Linked DNA regions of Homo sapiens: region 1 is linked to region 2. Evidence: promoter capture Hi-C in 16 types of primary human blood cells and fetal thymus (Javierre and others, 2016). All regions are on one chromosome and are shown on one strand. Each heading gives the region's core, a stretch centred on a gene start or on the middle of the fragment in contact. The rest is flanking DNA. Distances are from core to core; before and after follow the strand shown. Region 1 has its middle 150 kb from the start of LINC02780. Region 2 holds the start of CAMTA1-AS1 (CAMTA1 antisense RNA 1).

Evidence for each region. The method cuts DNA at HindIII sites, captures the fragments that hold promoters and counts their contacts. A CHiCAGO score of 5 or more calls a contact.
Region 1: a fragment that was not itself captured here is called in contact with the fragment with the promoter of CAMTA1-AS1 in region 2 in 1 of 17 cell types (total CD8 T cells); the score reaches 5.2 in total CD8 T cells.

Annotation. Positions count from the first base shown.
Region 1 is chr1:4,125,069-4,128,456 of GRCh38, reverse strand. No RefSeq gene overlaps it. Among named protein-coding and RNA genes, the nearest start is that of LINC02780, 150 kb to the right of the region's middle. The HindIII fragment of the contact is 1,190 bases long and covers 1,214-2,403 here.
Region 2 is chr1:7,439,809-7,442,969 of GRCh38, reverse strand. CAMTA1-AS1 (CAMTA1 antisense RNA 1) reads left to right here and starts at 1,353. Exons shown (of 2, transcript NR_187278.1): 1 at 1,353-1,882; 2 at 2,122-2,403. All of the region lies in intron 5 of CAMTA1 (calmodulin binding transcription activator 1), which reads right to left. The HindIII fragment of the contact is 2,325 bases long and covers 1-2,097 here.

The DNA of each region.
Region 1 (3,388 bases), core at 559-3,058, 3.3 Mb after region 2:
CACACACAGAGACAGAAAGAGAGACACAGGGATAGACAAAGAGAGACAGAGACGGAGAGTCAGAGAGAGACCCACAGAGAGGGAGACACACAGACAGACAGGGAGGCAGAGAAAGAGTCAGACAGAAGCAGAGACAGGGCAAGAAAGAGACAGAGCCAGACAGAGAGAGAGAGAGAGAGAAACAGAGACAAAGAGAGAGGGAGGCAGTGCGCAGACAAAGGTGGCTCCCAGAGCCGAGGGCCATGAGGGAGTCTTGGTGAGAGAATGTGGCTATTTTGATGGAAACTCACCCCCGACACAGAAAACTAAATCCCCGTTGCAGGCTCACCAGGCAGACCCATGGCATGGCAGGGACCAGACGGGCTCAGGAGGCCTTCCAGCGGGCTCCTCCCTCACAGAGAGGGCAAACAGAGGCCTCCACAGCCACACGCTGTCAGTGGCAGGGCTGGGGACGAGGTGCAGGTTTCCATCGTCTGTTTTTCTTGCTCCACGCCCGGTCTTTGGTCTCCGGGGGCCTCGAGCCACGGCAATCGGTGGGCCCTCCCTAGAGAAGACGTCCAGGCCACTACGAAAACCCACACTGAAGGGCTGCATGGGAGAAACAAGGCAGGATCTAGAAACAGGAGGTTCCAGCTACCAAGAACCTAAATCTCCCTGTTCATTCCTTCGTTCATCCAGCGAGTGCAGAGAAGCTTCACAGTGAGCCGCACTCCACCCAAAGATGAACAGTAGAGACAAACGGTGAAAGGCCGGTTAGAGTCAGCATGACTCAGAGAGAGACGAGCCAGCATGGGGAGGGATGGCGCGCAGCAGGCTTCCCCGAGGAGAGGACTAGGAGGTTGGTGGACGGGAGGCCAGCAACTCAGGGGGATGGGTGGGGAGACGAGTGTGCTCTCTCACACCCAGCACTTCTCCCTCCAGGAGCCCCGGCCGCCCTCACAATTAGGTGGACCAAGTGGCGCGTTCTGGCCAACGGGCTGTGAGCTGGCGTGAAGCGTACCGCTTCTGGCAGGGATGTCTCACTCCTGTATGCAAAGCCCTTCAGCACTGTCTTCCCCAGGGAACAACTGCATTAGGCTGTTCTTGCATTGCTATAGAGAAATGTCTTCGACTGGGTAATTTATAAGAAAGGAGGTTTAATTGGGTCATGGTTCGGCAAGCTGTATGGGAAGCATAGCCCCGGCATCAGCTTCTGGGGAGGCCTCTGGAAGCTTCCAGTCACAGTGGAAGGCAAAGGGGGAGCAGGCATGTCACGTGGTGAAAGCAGGAACAAGAGAGAGAGAGAGTTGGGGGAGGCGCCACACACTTTCCAATGACCAGATGTCACGGGAACTCACTCACTATCATGAGGACAGCACCAAGAGGATGGTGCTAAACCCTTCACGAGAAAGCCCCACCCCCATGGTCCAGTCACCCCCCACCAGGCGCCACCTTCAGTTCTCAGGATGACATTTCCACATGAGATCTGGACAGGGACAGATATCCAAACCATATCAACAGCCAAGAAGCCCACTAGTCCCAGGTAGTGAAGCCATAGCTGGAAGAGCTGCCACCGGCCTGGATCCCTGAGTGGCCTGTGGAGCAGAGACCCTGCCAGCCTGTCATGTGTGTGTACTGTGAGCAATAAACGTGCCATGCCGTGTGTGAGGCAGGCTTAGCCCACAACAGCACTGGCCTCAAGGGAGCACTAAAAATTATTATTTTTATTAAATCTCAACCCTGAGTTTACATCTTTTTAATGTAAATCTTTTTAATCTTCTGTGTGATTAAATGGGAACTATGTATAAAACACTCCTGGTGCAAACCAAAGTAGAATGTTTGTCTCGGAGAAAACCCTTGAGCCCTGTGAAACAACTGTGAGCTGAACTGGCTGCTTTTTATGAAATACCGTTTTTCCTTGAGAGAATAACTAAGAGACAAACTATGGTTATTCAGACATGGGTATTTGGCAGACATTTTCTCAAAATATATAAAGTGAGCCTGTCACTTCAAGGAAAACAACTGACAATATTTGTTGCCAATAATAGAGTTCTGACTTTCAAGGAGAAATTAGAATTTTGGAAGACTCGTATCCACCGCCGGGAGCTCGACAGCTTCCCAGCACTTAAAGGCTTTTGCGATGAAGAACGTGCTGATATTATTGAATGTGATGCTTGATATTGAATGAAGAAATGTGTTAGCATTTGGAAGATCTGCAAAACGCAGTGGAACGGTATTTTCCAGATGACCGTGGTGTGATGTTTCAAAATTACACGTGGGTTAAAAATCTATTCTTTGAATGAAAAAGGAAAAATTACTGACAGGGCTTTCCAATTTCCCACTGCAACTAACCTTTAGAAAACTCCTGCTTATTGACTTCCAGTTTAGCATAAAGAACAGTATCTGCAATTATCTAACAAAGCTTTTAAAATACCCCTCTGTTCCCCAACTACATACCTGTGTGAGGCCATATTTTCTTCATGTATTTTAAACAAAACAACATACTGCAACAGATTGAATACAGAAGGAGTTTTGCAAATCCAGCTGCCTTCTCTCCAACCAAACATTACAGAGATTTGCTGAAAGGTAAAACAAAGCCTCACTTCTCACTATTTGGTGGTGGTGGGGGGGGGGGGTGGTCTATAATTATTTTTATTGAAATCTGTTATTTATGTAAACCTGTAATTAGCTTATTATTATCATCTTTTTGTTTTGTTTTGTTTTGTTTTTGAGACAGAGTCTCGCTCTGTCGCCAGGCTGGAGTGCAGTGGCGCGATCTTGGCTCACTGCAACCTCCACCTCCCGGTTTCAAGCAATTCTCCTGCCTCAGCCTCCCGAGTAGCTGGGATTACAGGCATGTGCCACCACGCCCAGCTAATTTTTGTATTTTTAGTAGAGATGGGTTTTTACCATGTTGGCCTGGCTGGTCTTGAACTCCTGACCTCATGATCTGCCCACCTTGGCCTCCCAAAGTGCTGGGATTACAGGCATGAGCCACTGCGCCCAGCCTATCATTGTTATTTTTAATGAATTAATAAGTACATGAGTTGTAAGTTTCTCAGTTTTTGTCAGTAAAGAAGAAATTATCAATAGAGATAATCCACACCCACCAAAGCTCTGTGGGAACCTCAGTAACTTTTAAAAGTACAAAGGGTTTCTGAGACTAGAACGTAGGGGTCCAAATTCCTGAGCCTGGAGTTCAGGCCATCCACAGTGTCACCCAGCTGACCTCCCCCGCACACCCCTGTCCATGCTGGCTCATGTGTTCCCACACCCTCCTTCCAGAACACCACACCTGCTTCACCTTCCTCACGGTGCAGCTGGGTAGAAACCCTTCCCCACCTCCATGTAAGCTTCTAACCATTCCAAAAGCCCAGCTCAGGCTCCTGCCCCTAGCAAAGCTCCCAAG
Region 2 (3,161 bases), core at 104-2,603:
CAGAGAATGTGGCATCTGGGAAGGCCAGGGCAGTAGCACTGTGTCATAGCCCTTGAGTCTCAGTGTCTGCCTTCTCCATAAGAACACCAGCTCTGGGGGCAGGGACCATGCTTGCTTTATTCCTTGCCAATCTCTAAATACCAGCACAGTACTGACATACAGTAGGTGCTCAATAAATGTTTGTAAACTAGATAAAAAGTGCCTCATAGATATTGTCTCATTTACTCTTAACAACAACCCAGTGGAATCAGGATTATCAGCATCCGCATTTTGCCAGTGAGGGAATGGAGGCTCTGGGAGATTGAGAACCTCAGCCAAGTCACGCGTTGAGTAAACCATGGAGGCAGGATTTGCACCCAGGGCTGCTCTGACCCTCAAACCCATATTCTCAACCCGTGTGCCACTTTGCTTTGGCCTCTTTTTCTAGCAGATTCTTTATCTCTTGGAGCTGCTGCTACCACCTCCATGAATACAACCGGGCCATTGGTATGCGAACCTACGTGCTCCCTGTACCGGCTGCCTGCTCATCTATGCATATTTCGTTATTAAAATGGGGATACTTCAATCTCCGAATAATTTTGTCTTTAGGGAAGCTCCGTCCCCAGCTGCCCACAGCGAAAGCCCCCAGGAAGCAGGCACCTACTTGTGATTCAGGCCACCGTGTCCATCTGTCAACACGGTTGTCTCCTGTATCTGCCATCTCTTATTTATAATCCCGCTCAGATTAATGAATGACAGTAGTTCTCATCACAGGAAATTTGATTAATCAATTTAAGTGCTTAATCACCACAGCCTTGCTGAGCGCTGAGCATAAGGGATCTCACTTTGATGCAGATGAATTTCAGGAAGAACTGGGAGAGTAGAAACAAAATTGTCAGCACTTCTCCATGGAAACCCCATGGAGGTTTCAGGGCTGAGGACAGCGCTGGGGAAGTCCTGGGGCCCCCAGAAGCCAGAGGTGGGGTAACAAGAGGATGGGTGGATGACTTACGCAGGGAGCAGCCCTCTGAAACCGCCGGAATCGAGGCCTCCTTTGCACCTTGATTCCACCCAGAGTCTGCGCCTACGCTTTGGGCAGGGGAGGCAGAACCCACGTTGGTCTAAGAGCAGGGAGAAGTGGGCATGATCCTACCATGCTGCAGGGCCTCGGGATGGGGATGGGATTTGCTGCTCTTTGTGCCCAATTAATGAGCGAGACGAACAAGCACACTGAGTAGCTTCCTGCCAGCCGTCCCCTTTGGCAGCAAACTCATCCCCACCTCTGGGCCTTGGCTCGAGTTGTTAGCCAACTCAACCTTGAAGCCGTCCCTTCCTATCAGCCCATGCAAATTCTGCCATCAGCCAAGGACCGCCTCTTCCTCTTCCGGGAAGCTGACTTCAAGCCATGCCCTTCCCTTTTGCAAGCTCCCGTGGCTCGCGACCCGCAGCCCACCCCTGCACCAGTGGACACTGCGGGATGGCCTGGCCTCGGCTCTGCATTTTCACTTCTCTTAGCTCTCATCTCCTCCACCACAGAGACAGCTCTGTCTGAGTATCTTTCTGATACTGTTCTTTATCCCCCAGGACTGGCCCAGCCCAGGGCGGTGCGTACAGCAGACACTTAATGTAACACAGTAGCAGCTTTTAATTTCTCAGGCCAATGAGATACAGACAGTCACTGGTATGGTAGTTTTTCAGTCAAGCATCAAGGGTGTGTGCCCCTGGGGGACATTGCAAAATGCTGGGTGTGGGGAGCAGTTTGAACAGCAACATTCAATATTACACCATGTTTTCATTTTTCAAATGCAGGAAGAACTTATTAGTTTGAATTACAAACAACAGAAGTAGAAAACTCCACAAGGAAAAATCTCAGCTGGTGAAGAAGCTCAGGAGCTCACAGAAGGTGAGCACTTGGGGGTAAGTGGGCTGGGCACCTCAGGAGTTTTGTGATGTCCAAAAGGAGATGTGGGTGACGTAGGGTTTAAAACCCGCACCTGTAGGACCAGTCAAATGGAGACAGAGTTGGCTTCCCAGAGCTACCGCAAGGGCACGAGGTAGGAGGACCAAGCTACCAGTTACTGAATGGGCACTGAGCAGCTATAATGTGTGCACTAAGCTTGTCCTGTCTTAATCCCAAAACAGTGTGATGAAGTAATCAAACCATCGCCATCGGCTAAGGAAACCGAGGGGTGCAGAGCTGATGTCGCTTGGCCCGCAAGCCACGGAGAGTGGGAGCAAGAGGAGGTTTGGTCAGGCTGCCTCTGCCCCTGTCTTTCTCGGCCCACAGGCTCCAAGCAGGCAGGACCAGACCGCAGCTTCCAGGTGCTGGGATCCGGGGACCACACCTTCACCTGCTGCTCTCTTGAAGGAAAAACAAATATCTGCCTCTGGCAGGTAAAAAAAAAATAAAAGGAGTGCGTCTCATGCTGTTTGTGATAGCTGCTACACAGAGAAAGACTAATTTTGGAAACCGATTATTAAAAAATATATTCACTCTGAACGACGCAATCAATCAAACCTTCAAGATGCAGGTTCAGCCGGTGCCGTGGAACTCCCAGGCAACACACGGCTCCTTCCCAGGCTGCTGTCTGGCCCGGCCAGGCCTCCTTCCCACTGGGACTGTCCCAGCTCTGCCCTGGGGACATTGGCCTCCGGCCTGCCCAGGCTGCAGTGAGGATGGAGAGGGAAGAGGTCGGGGCTCCCGATTGCTGACTGGTCAGGAGGCAGCTGCGGAGTCAGGATTGAAGCCGCATCGGCTCCCATGCCATGAAGTGGACAAAGTGGACACCTCTCCCCACCAGGTAGTGGGCACAGAGCCCAAGACACACTGGTAGGAGCAGTCCCTAGCCTGCCCTCTCGCCTATGCCACGGGGCCAGTGCCACCTGAGCCATGGGCTAATGTGCCAGAGATGTGGGGCACATGGGATGCCCAGTGCGGGTACCCGCCCAGTGCTGCCTGCGTTCCAGGAGCCACCTGCCTCCCTTGCCACTGAGACAGGCCTGCTGGGCCTCAACAAAGCCTCACGGAATTCTAGCGATGATTCTGTGAAGGGATCTCCGAGCTCACTGGGGCCTCTTCATTTTGCAAATGAGGAAGCCAAGGTTGGAGATGCAGCTCACGTGACTCCGACACTCCGCACCTTGGACAGCCTCAGATACCCAGGCTTTGCCTCCTGGGAGGC